2 separate regions of the Homo sapiens genome follow, and region 1 is linked to region 2. Evidence: promoter capture Hi-C in 16 types of primary human blood cells and fetal thymus (Javierre and others, 2016). All regions are on one chromosome and are shown on one strand. The core of a region is centred on a gene start or on the middle of the fragment in contact, and the rest is flanking DNA. Distances in the headings are between cores, read along the strand shown.

The links. Contacts are between HindIII fragments. The CHiCAGO score rates a contact against its expected background, and 5 or more counts as called.
Region 1: a contact is called between a fragment that was not itself captured here and the fragment with the promoter of GNRHR in region 2, in 1 of 17 cell types (neutrophils). The highest score is 5.7, in neutrophils.

The regions. Positions count from the first base shown.
Region 1 is chr4:68,373,193-68,379,745 of GRCh38, reverse strand. It overlaps the pseudogene MT2P1. Among named protein-coding and RNA genes, the nearest start is that of YTHDC1, 26 kb to the right of the region's middle. The HindIII fragment of the contact is 4,533 bases long and covers 1,335-5,867 here.
Region 2 is chr4:67,750,066-67,755,881 of GRCh38, reverse strand. It overlaps GNRHR (gonadotropin releasing hormone receptor), which reads left to right and starts at 1,494. Exons shown (of 3, transcript NM_000406.3): 1 at 1,494-2,068. The coding sequence starts at 1,547. The HindIII fragment of the contact is 5,914 bases long and covers 1-1,911 here.

The sequences.
Region 1 (6,553 bases), core at 2,352-4,851, 620 kb before region 2:
TGTTTTAATTTGCAGTTCTCTGATTACAGAGTAAGGGTAAGTCACTCTTCGTTTGCTTATGAACCATTTGGGATTCCCAGTTTATTTGTGTATTTTCTGTTTCAATAGTAGAATGCAAACTTCATAGGTGCTGTTGTTTATTTGCATCTCCATTCCTTTCCTGATTAGTTTTAACATAAATTTGTCTAGTCAATCTTTTAAAAGAAAAGCCAGTTTTGAGTTTTTATAGTTCATAGTTATATGTTTAGAATACGTTGAATGAATGATGAATAAGTAAAAAAGGAATGTCATTTGCTGTGTAACAAACAACTGCACAACTCAATGACTTATAACAACAAACTTTTTATCCTCACTCACCAAGTGCCCACCTACCTGTGGGTAGTTGTGGCTCTGAAGAGGCATATTGGGCATGGCTCCAGCCTGCAATTTGAATGAGGTCTGCAATGAGAGGAAACTGTTGTTTAGATTTTTTAAAACTTAGATTTATAGTTTACATGTTCCAAATTCCTTTTCTTTAAAATATAGGAAAAAAAATGATACCGAATATTTATGACCCAGTAAGCCTAGGAAAACATCTTGCAAGCTGAGTTGTCATGAAAATATCTTGAGTAAGATTATATTTGATTATTCTCTCTGCTTTAGTACAACTTAATATGTTTTACTTATATTTTCTGACTTTCATTGTAAAGATGATAAGCCTCTCCAATATGGCAAATTATTTTACTACAGAGACTGTCTTAACATAACATCTGCCCAAGGTTTATTTTAAAAAAAAAAAGAGCATGTTTCAGAAAATTGCATGAAGTCATCAAACATGTCTTATGTCTCATAGCAGAGTTGCTATTCAGTCAGTATACATGACCATACAAGTTGTTAAAATATTGAAACAATCCTATATACATGGTAAATAGAAGCCACTTTGAGACCCTGCCCCATGCCTCTGCCCCAGCCCACCAGAGGTGTACTCATAATCCGGACATGAAGGGCACAGCATCCAGGAAGCTGCTCTAGCAGTTTGGCTGGTGTCTGTTCTGATTGGTCAGTGCCCTATGTTGTACTAATTGTTATATATTTTAAATATCACGTCTGAAGATAGGAAATAGCGCAAATTCTCATGTACAATGTGTAAATAAACTCATGGGATTTTGTCGGGGGTGGGGGTTGGGCTTTGTTCCTCCAACAAATACGCACATATACATACGACATGCATGACACCTATGTATACGCTCCAAAATCTCTGGGATAAAGAAAGCAATACAGTGTGTCTCTCTTCCTGAAGCTGTTTATATTAAAGATGCCTCTGGCAGTTTTTCATCTAAACACGTTACAAAGCTTCACTTGTTCCACACTTTTCACATCTCTTGGTTAACTTCTGGATTGATTCCTTGTCTTACTTGAGCACATCCTCCCAAAGTGTTTTCAAACAGAATTTTTGTCAGCCTTCTGAGGCCTTGTGTACCTTACAATAACTTATTTCAGCCTTACATTGAATTAATTGGATATAGCATCCTAGCTTCAAATTTCTCTTATTTCAACAATTTCTCTGTCCTCTTTCTATCAAATACACTCAGCCCTATGTATCTTCAGGTTCTGCATTTACAGATTCAAACAACCTGGGACCGAAAATATTCAAGAAAAAACCAAATTAACAATTAAAAAAATACAAATAAAAACCAAAGCAGCATAACAACTATTTACATAGCATTCCTATTGTATTAGGTATCATATGTAATATAGAGATAATTGAATGTATACAGGAGGATGTATGTAGATTATGAGCAAACAGGCCATTTTATATAAGGGAATTGAGCATTCCTGGATTTTACTATGAAGGCAGTGGGTCCTTGAACCAATCCTTGAAGATACTGAAGAAAGACTGTACTAATATCACTCTTTCGTCCTGCAAAATTCTGTCACTGTATCTTACCTTTTCTCTCAGTTTTTTAGCACTGCTTTGTCCTTCCTGAGTCCTTCTAGAAGAGTTGATTGACCTGATCTTTCAGCTCACTAATTTGTATTTCAAGTGTGTTCACTCTGAAAAGCAGTATCTAAAAAACATCTATAAGGTTTATCTAATACCATACTTACTGAGTTATTTCAGTTATTAGGTTTTTCATACTGAATATCTCCAGTTGGTCCTTCATAACTGATTTTTCTGATTCATGTTTCTAATTTCCTCCTTTGGGTCTCTAAAAATATTTTTAGTCCTTTTAAAACAATTATTACACTTTTGAACATTTTTTTCTATCTGATCCATTCATTTGGCTTCCTCTTTTATTTTTATTTTTTTAGCTTCCTCTTTTAAAGATATCTGTTTGCCTACCTTCTTTTCATAATACATACATTCTTCACATTTTGTGATTTTGTTATTTTTTTCCTGTGAACATACAGTCCCTTATGGTCTTGGATGATATTCAGATGATTTAATAACAAGGACAGCATGGACACCAACTAATCCTAACAGAATGCTGAACATATTAGAACAGATAGATGCTCACTGTTAACTACCTGATATGGGCTCAATGACTGTCGTCCTAACTTGAGACTATCAGCTAATCATACTAATTAAGTGTACTATTATACCCTGATTAGTATCCTCAGATTACAAAGTTATTGTACCAAAAATCTCCTCCTAAAGACCCAATTCTGATGTCAATTTGATCTAAACTGGTTGACAACATAATTTCTAAATCTTTTCCCTGCAATGATTAAAGTATAATCCAACAGCTTCTTAAGATTTAAAGATAAGATTTTCAAGATCATAAAAGGTTTAACATAAGAAAGACTGTACTAATATCACTCTTTTGTCCTGCAAAATTCTGTCACTATGTCTTAACTTTTCTCTCAGGTTTTTAGCACTGTTTGTCACTTCCTAAGTCCTTCTAGGTAAGGACTAAGATAAAATAATTCCAAGAAAAGACCTCATGCTAGGAATAGTCTGTTTACCATCCAGCAAGAGTATTCTTTTTATTTCCAAATTAGATAACCTGCTACAATCATGAATTATTTTACATAGTTTATTTATATTAAAATTTAATAAAACAGTGGTAAAGTTTATCTGGTACTTTAATACTATTCTCTTTTTTTTTTTTTTTTCAAGTCAAAGCTGTTTTATTATCATTCACATTATTTCATAGAAAAAGGAATGTAGCAAACGTCAGGGTCAGGGTTGTACATAAAAAATCCAGGTTTGTAGAGGTCGCGTTATTTACATCTGGGGGCAGGGCTGTCCCAGCATCAGGCACAGCAGCTGCACTTGTCCGACGCCCCTTTGCAGATGCAGCCCTGGGCACACTTGGCACAGCCCACAGGACAGCAGGAGCAGCAGCTTTTCTTGCAGGAGGTGCATTTGCACTCTTTGCACTTGCAGGAGCCGGCGCAGGTGCAGGAGTCACTGGCGGCACAGGAGCAGTTGGGATCCATGGCGAGCTGAAGAGGCGGCTGGAGTCGGGACAGGTTGTACACGGGCTCGCTGGGACTTGGAGGAGGCGTGGTCAATACTGTTGTCTTTTTAAACTTTTGTTCAACATTTCAGTATCAGACTATTTCTTCTTTGGCACTTGCTTTCAATTCGCCTATCTTGCCACTAGATGGAGAGGGATGCCACTAGGTGGAGGGTGATGCCTACCACTAGATGGTACTTAAACTTACCTTCTTGCATTCAACAGCCTAAAAGATAGCTGTTTAAGTTTAACGTGTATATACAGGGTCTTGTCTTAATATGGTGAAAAATTAATGTTCCAGTTTCAAAAGCGAACTTATAACATCTTTTTTCCTCTAGGTCATTGAAACAAGAATTCTCTCTCTCTCTATCTTTCTCTTTCTCTCTTTAAATTGTTTTTACAGACGGGGTCTCCTTCTGTCACTCAGGCTATAGTGCAGTGGCATGATCATAGCTCACTGTAGCCTTGAACTCCTCGGTTCCCACCTCAGCCTCCCCAGTAGCTGGGATTACAGACTTAAGCCATCATGCTGACGAGCCTTCTTTAATACCTATGCTAAAACTCCATGTACTTATTTGGGAAGAAAAGGGAAGATGGTTAGCCCCATGAATAGTGACAATAATAATAATAAAGTTATCACCATTTCAGGATGGTGCTGTACATGCCACCTGCTGGAGAAAAAAGATGTGGGAGGTGTTACACTGACAGCCTGAGGGTTCCCCAGGAATTCATTTAGCCTCATTAATTCGGGGAAGGGTAGTTATTCCACCAGCAAATTCCAGCAAGCGAAATGGCAGCTTTGGACATTTGGGCCTCTCTAGTTTCTTTGAGTTATACAGTGCTTCCTTATAGAATTTATTTCCTTCCATGGATCTTACTGTGAGTAGCCAGATATCTAAATCCTGGGCTCATGCACAAGTAACCCCCAGACCTCATAAAATTATACTGCTGTATATTCGTACACTTACATTTCAAGTCTAGCATTTGCATCTAAATTCATTTGGCTGCATCATAATCAAGTCACATAATCTTGCTTTCATTTTAAGTCTTACAGGCTTCAACTAAGTTTAATTTTGAAAACAAGGCAGGGCGCGATGGCTTACGCCTGTAATCCCAGCACTTTGGGAGGCCAAGGCGGGTGGATCACTTGAGGTCAGTAGTTTGAGACCAGCTTGGCCAACATGGAGAAACCCCGTCTCTACTAAAAACATGAAAAATTAGCCAGGCGCGGTGGCTCACACCTGTAATCCCAGCACTCTGGGAGTCTGAGGCGGGCAGATCACTTGAGGTCAGGAGTTCGAGAATAGCCTGGCCAACATGGTGAAACCCTGTCTCTAATTTAAAGAAAATACAAAAATTAGCCAGGCGTGGTGATGCATGCCTGTAATCCCAGCTCCTTGGGAAGCCGAGGCAGGAGAATCGCTTCAACCGGGGAGGCGGATGTTGCAGTGAGCCGAGATCAGGCCACTGCGCTCCAGCCTGGGAGACAGATCGAGACTCCATCTCAAAAAAAAAAAAAAAAAAAAAAATTGAAAACTGTAAAAGGAACATTTTTTTTACTATATACTTGAAAGATCAAAAAAGAAGTGTCTATCTACCAATACAGAGCTACAGTAAGAGGTCACTAGACATTAAGTTATTTATTTCACTGGTAATAATTTTACATGGTTGAACGTTCATGTTAAGTTTCTCACCATGCGAGATGCGAGATGATTCATAAATACATTGCTGGGAAATACTGGGGAAACAGATCGTCTAAAGACTTAATTGCGGCCGTGCGCGAGGGCTAACCCCTATAATCCCAGCAATTTGGGAGGCCGAGGCCAGAGAATCACCTGAGGTCGGGAGTTCGAGACCAGCCTGGCCAATAGGACAAAAACCCCATCTCTACTAAAAATACAAAAATTAGCCTAGTGTGGTGGCGTATGCCTCAAATCCCAGCTACTCTGGAGGCTGAGGCACGAGAATCTCTTGAACCCGGGAGGCGGAGGTTGCTGGTGAGCAGAGATTGGCCACTGCACTCCAGCCTGGGTGATAGAGTGAGACTCCATCTCAAAAAAAAAAAAAAAAATCTAATCGTAATTCACTTGTGGTGAGAATTAAAATCTTCAAACTAGCCAAAGAAATTCATAGTTTTTAAATAATATGTCACTTTCCTTTTCAAAAGCATTGACAAATGTATTAATCATGACTGACAATATGGAACAAAGATTGCTGGAAGGAGTATAAACTGGCATAACTTTTCAAGAGAGCAATTTTGCAATCATTATCAAAAATTTGAAAAGTATTCATATTGTTTAGGGAATTTTATTTATTTATTACAGAGAAAATTACGTAACAACCAAAAAATTTAAAACTCAAGGGATGGTTAAACAAATCCTAATACATAGTTCTATTTCCATTACAATCAACATCGAATAAGCTTTCCGTGCCTTAGAGGTTAGAAGGTAAAAACTACGTTTCCCAGATATCTTCGCAGGGAGGGCTGCGGAAGGGTTTGGGTTCCGCCAATCAGATGCACCGTGTGCAGCGGCAGGGCGGCTGCGGTCCTTTTGGATGCTGCCAAGCCAGGCCGAGACTGCTTTGTTCTGCCAATGGCAGCCTCGGGCTTCTAGCGCTTCCACCTGACACTGCTGCCTTTGGATCGCAGGACTACCCATGCCATTTCTGGAGAATGGAAGTTGTTCCTAAACGCTCACACAGCGCCTGCCCCTACAATTCCAAACAGTTTGTAAGCCATCTAATGGTTTGCAGCCAGTGATAAATTCCTTTCTGCCTATTTATTCTGGAAGAGCAGTCTGCAACTGAACCATATCAAATACAGTATCGATATGGTAGAATATGGCACATCAATTTAAAAATCAAGGTTGTTAACTAATATTTAATGGCACAGGGGTAAATTCTGTAACTTTTTTATGGACACAATTTATTTTTCACTGATTTATAACTAGATCACTACTCATGCCAAAAACTATTTTCGTAACGGCCTGTGTAGTCTTTCAGAGCGAACAATTAAACACATGTGAGGAGTTTCGCTTCGTTGTAGGGAAAATTAAAAATGATTTTTAAACACAATACCAAAAGGATTTCCCTCCTTGACTCGGGCGCGA
Region 2 (5,816 bases), core at 245-2,744:
ACAATTTTTTTTTTGTAATTCTCCTAGATGAGTCAGAACTTAGTTTTGACGTAGGTAAAAATTTTATGGTCACAAATCTCAGGTGTGAGAAAATCTCTTTCCTTGATACTCTATATAAATAGAGGATATAAATATTTCAAGTCTGGAAGTAGTGAGAGAAGCTGGTAATTCTGGACATATAGTGACAGTCAAAAAGGAGCTCAGGTACAGGACTGGTCTAAGCTGCTCAAGATTCAGGAGACAGCCAGTACACAGAGAAGCTGAGGAGATACATAAGATATATCTAAAACATTTATCTAACCTTCTGTGGTAACAAGCTCCTTAAAGGGGCTGGATGATGTTGTGTTCACTTTTTATCACCAGCAAAGGCTAAGATAATGTATATAGTAAATATTTAGTAACTATTTATTAAATAAATAAATATTTAAGACAGAATAAACAAGTATAATAAATGAACCAATAAGAATGCACCATCTAAGTCAAAATAGCCACTTTTATCCTTAACATTGTACCTGCTTTGGCTGCTGCAGAAGCAAACTTGTTGGCATTAGACAAATCAAGCTGGTGATTTAATAAATTCCAATGTAAGTCTTACCAGTATTGATGAATAACTATCCAGCACTCACCATGAAAGTTAAAGAAACAACACAGAAAAAGTTCCTAAGTGGTCCCAATTTGAAATGATCAGATAACCTATAAAAGAACATATTCATATTATACTAACATAAACACATATAAATGCACTTACAGCAGTTACACAGTATTCTCTTCAATAACTAGTTTCCTTATGCATTAATGTGTAATAACAGCAACTACAATATTTAGATAATTATAAAAACCAAGGCAATAATTTAAAAACTGATTAACCGTTTTACTCTAACTTAAGCATGGATTGGATCAGTAAGATTGATTAATAAATTTGAATGCAGTCAGTTGGATTGATTCTAATTTAAAGTTTTAATTTGTTGTAGAATAATTTTAAGTGAATATATTTGTCCAGTGTTCGAGTGCTCAACAGTGTGTTTGAAAAGGAAAACAAAGAAATGTTTTTGAGAAATGTGTTAATTCCTTAAGACAATGGATTTTAATTGGATCTAGTTGTTTTCATTTTTCTTCATTATCATTATACATCTGTATGTTGGACAGAACACTAACACTAAATAGTTTTTAGAAAAATTTTTTAAAGTTATTTAAATCATAATATCATGACTGACTTTTAAATTCAAAATTAGGCTGTGACTATCCTTCTTCACTTAGGAAGAGTGTTGTGAAAGCCAGACCATCTGCTGAGGTGCTACAGTTACATGTGGCCCTCAGAATGCATTTGGCCTGCTCTGTTTTAGCACTCTGTTGGATTACCAATACACAAAACAAGTTAACCTTGATCTTTCACATTAAGTATCTCAGGGACAAAATTTGACATACGTCTAAACCTGTGACGTTTCCATCTAAAGAAGGCAGAAATAAAACAGGACTTTAGATTCGGTTACAATAAAATATCAGATGCACCAGAGACACAAGGCTTGAAGCTCTGTCCTGGGAAAATATGGCAAACAGTGCCTCTCCTGAACAGAATCAAAATCACTGTTCAGCCATCAACAACAGCATCCCACTGATGCAGGGCAACCTCCCCACTCTGACCTTGTCTGGAAAGATCCGAGTGACGGTTACTTTCTTCCTTTTTCTGCTCTCTGCGACCTTTAATGCTTCTTTCTTGTTGAAACTTCAGAAGTGGACACAGAAGAAAGAGAAAGGGAAAAAGCTCTCAAGAATGAAGCTGCTCTTAAAACATCTGACCTTAGCCAACCTGTTGGAGACTCTGATTGTCATGCCACTGGATGGGATGTGGAACATTACAGTCCAATGGTATGCTGGAGAGTTACTCTGCAAAGTTCTCAGTTATCTAAAGCTTTTCTCCATGTATGCCCCAGCCTTCATGATGGTGGTGATCAGCCTGGACCGCTCCCTGGCTATCACGAGGCCCCTAGCTTTGAAAAGCAACAGCAAAGTCGGACAGTCCATGGTTGGCCTGGCCTGGATCCTCAGTAGTGTCTTTGCAGGACCACAGGTAAGCCATTATACACAAACTTATTTGGATATGGTGATCATAGATTTCCTATCTAAATTTGATATAAGGTCTTATCAAAGGAAGTACTGTATTACCTTTAAGAGCTTGGGTTCTGGAAGTCAGAGAGTGAAGTTTAATTCTGGCTCTGTTCTGTTACCTTGGGCAAACTTCTTAACCTCTCTGGTTTCAGTTCCTTTACCGATAAAATGTAACATGGGGGTTAATGCTTACTTAATACTGCTTTTGTGATGAATAAATAAATAAAGTAGCTCACATAATCTCTATTATGTAGCAAATGCTTCCCCAAAAAAAATGCGATTCTCAAACTTGACCTTATCTCCATCCTATTCTTTTATCTGTTTTTCTTTTTGTTTTGGTTGACATGGCTTTAATGTTTAGTTGAGATAATTTTTAGGAATTATGAAATTTGCCTAGGTAGAAAATATTTATAATGTTTCTTATTTAGGGTTTCTTCAGTGGAAATTTTAAGAATTCTGTCACTGCAGCTTAGAGAGAATTATTCTTTGTTAGTATGTTGCTCTGCAGTTTGCAGCTAAGTGGGACTGAATATAGAAGAAAAGTAAGACATCTTGGATGTTTGGAAATCCAAATATTTCCCTAAAGTTAGCTTGAGTTTTGCTGGAGGCAGCTTATTGAGAAAGCCATATGACTGACAGAGTAGGCACAGGCCCTCCCCACAGAGGGCAATTATCTTTCCAGGTTGCCTTCACCAGAAGCAGCCTAGTTAACTGACCTGCTGAACCTGCCATTTTAACAATCAGATCCCCGAAGAAAAGGACAAATTCTTGAAAATAACAAAGAATGTTAATAGCAGATGAACAAGTTTTCTCTTGCATTTAAATGTACTACATGATAAACCCAGGATACAAGGATGTGTCAAGAAATAAATCAGAATTAACTAGGATCCTCCAAAACTTGCCTCTGAAAATGGAAATTTATCTAGACTTTTTTTTACTGACCAGATGGTTAAAAAACAACAACAACAAAAAAAAACTGCCATGCAGAACTCACTATATAGCACAAGACACTAGAAAGCTGGATAACTGTTTTATCCCATCAATTTCTCACTTTAATATTTCTTTTGAATATGTGTGTGTTTCATAATAAGAATAATGGGAAAAACTAAAATGTTTTCATTTTCTGAAGAAAAATATATGATTTATTTCACAGTGATGCAATACATAAGAATAAGTTTAGCAAATATATCACCTGAAATGAGGTGATTTAGCTAAGGCTTATGCTCTTAAAATTTTCCACATTCTTTCTTTCCACTTTTGCACCTATGGTCCAAGTTACCTGGGAGGTTGGGAGGGAGGTTGTGGTGGGAGGATCACTTGAGCCCAGGAGTTCGAGACCAGACTGGGCAATATAGGGAGGCCCCATATCAACAAATTATTAAAAAAAAAATTGCTTAAATGCTGGTCATGATGACCCGCACCTGTGGTCCCAGCTACTTGGGAGGCTGAGGTGGGAGAATCGCTTGAGCCTGGGAGGCAGAGGTTGCAGAGAGCCATGATGCATCACTGCAACTGCACTGCAATCTCGGTGACAGAATGAGAACCTGTCTCAAAAAAGAAAAAAAAAAGGCTTTGGGAAAATTTATGTAGGCCCAAATGGCCCAAATGGAGTGGAATAAAACAAAGACTTTTTTAAAAATCATCTGGCAATGAGGTGATCAGGGGGCTAGGGTGGTATCAAAGAGAATAGATAGTAAAAGAGACATTTCAAATAAAATACAAAACCTGACAACAAATTGGATTGAGAGAGTTAATAATAGAGCAGGGGGAAATAAAGTTCCAATTTTTTTAGCCTAGGAATTAAAATAGTAAAACCATTGAAATGATCCGGTGGGAAGGGGAGTGTTTGTTTGTCTGCCTGTTTGTTTGTAGAAGGGAGAGGGAAGGCAGGCTATGAGAAGTAAAATCATTTGCTTTAGGACATGACTGTTGGCAATATAAGATCTGTGTAATTACAACTATGTGTAAAGTAGTTGGTAATTTGAGGTGCTGATGTAGATTAAAATCCAAACCAAAGTAGAAATAATCCTATCTGCAATAATAACTGAAGGGCAAACTCACGATTTGATTCTTCTTAGAAGAAGTCTCCTAGAAGCTATAAATAAAATATTGCTTTATCAATCCAATTATTTTCATCTAAGTATTAACAGCAATAATAGAAAGATAATGCCAAATATTTATCTAACTTGATGTAGCAAAAAGAAAATAGGAACTTAACTTTGAATTGTTTAGGAATTTCATGTAATAGTCTGACCTCAAATACATTACTAGAGAGATTTATGTGAATGTGAGCCACAGAAAATGGTGTTATTTTATTTTGTAAAACACATGACTCATCCTTACTTTCAACAACACTTTAAAGCACTTTGCTGAAGTTTCCTGAATAACCTCACATAAGTAATGCTGATATTTACGTTAACTCTATAAGGTAAATAGGAGCTGTGTTATTATCCCTATTTCATATATAAGAGAGCTAAGGTCTAAACCTATGAAGACAATGGCATTCAAATCCTTTTGCAATAATCCAAAGTAAGAAATACACACTACACTGAAACCTTGTTTGTGTCTCTGTCTCTTTCTCTCACACATATAACTGAGAAAAAATTTTGATGAAATAAATATTCTATTCTGTTACATTTTATTTTTTACTGTTGATTACAACTCATTGCTGAGCATATCCTGCAGTTCAAAAAGCACTGATTTAAAAGGATTCATTAGCATTCCCAGTGTCACGTGCTCTGTTGGACTCGTGTTGTCTTATTCTTTCCTTTTATTATGGCTCTCTTCAATTTCTCTGAATAAAAGAAATTTCAATCCCATAACTAATGTTACATATATTTGATGAGGAACATGAGAGAGAAAGAGGGCTTTTTATTTCTAGACTGTGATGCATGATGAGTGTGTCTCATGCTTCACCATGCTCTGTGGTCAATTATAAAAAATGTAATTGACAAAGGCACGTCCTATTGTGCCTAATTTACATTAAAAGGGTAACTTTAATTTTCATCCTTTGGTGCACATACCGATTTTCTATTATTTGAGTAATTCATACCTCAGTTGAAAAAAAAACACTTAACAAACATGTTTTCACCACTCAGGGCTGGGGATCTGGGAATTTATGACATTTTGCCTCAGCTCAGAATGACCAAATTTCAAATTGGCCTCCTAGATTTTCCACTTTCCTCATTATTAACCTCAGAAGCTATGTTCTGTGATAATTCGGCAGTGCATTCTCAGAAGTTTTAGCATAGTGTGGCATAGAAACTTTCAAACTTTATGCTAGTAATAGAATTCTTTTTAAAAAATTCTATATCACAATGTACCCCATAAATATGTACAATTATTATGTGTCTGTTAAAAATTTTTAAATAAAATACAGTACAAAAAATCCTGTACAAAAAGCCATAATGAATGAAACAGATATAAGTGGAGCTGCTCTGGTTAAAATAGAGGGAAAGGAGGACCAGTCCTCCACTTGGTTATTCACTAGCTCTCAGTCACAGTTACTAAAGACTTCCTATCTCCTTGCAGCAAAGTTCAAAAGCCAATGGGATAGTAAAAGTGGCATGAGTGTGAGATTCAAATGGAGTTGGGCTCAAATCTCAGTAATACTGCCTACCAGCTATGTGACTCTGAGCAAATTACTTACATTTAAAAGAGTAATTGTAAAGAATAAGTCATACAATTTATAAAATCATCTAAGACTTTAC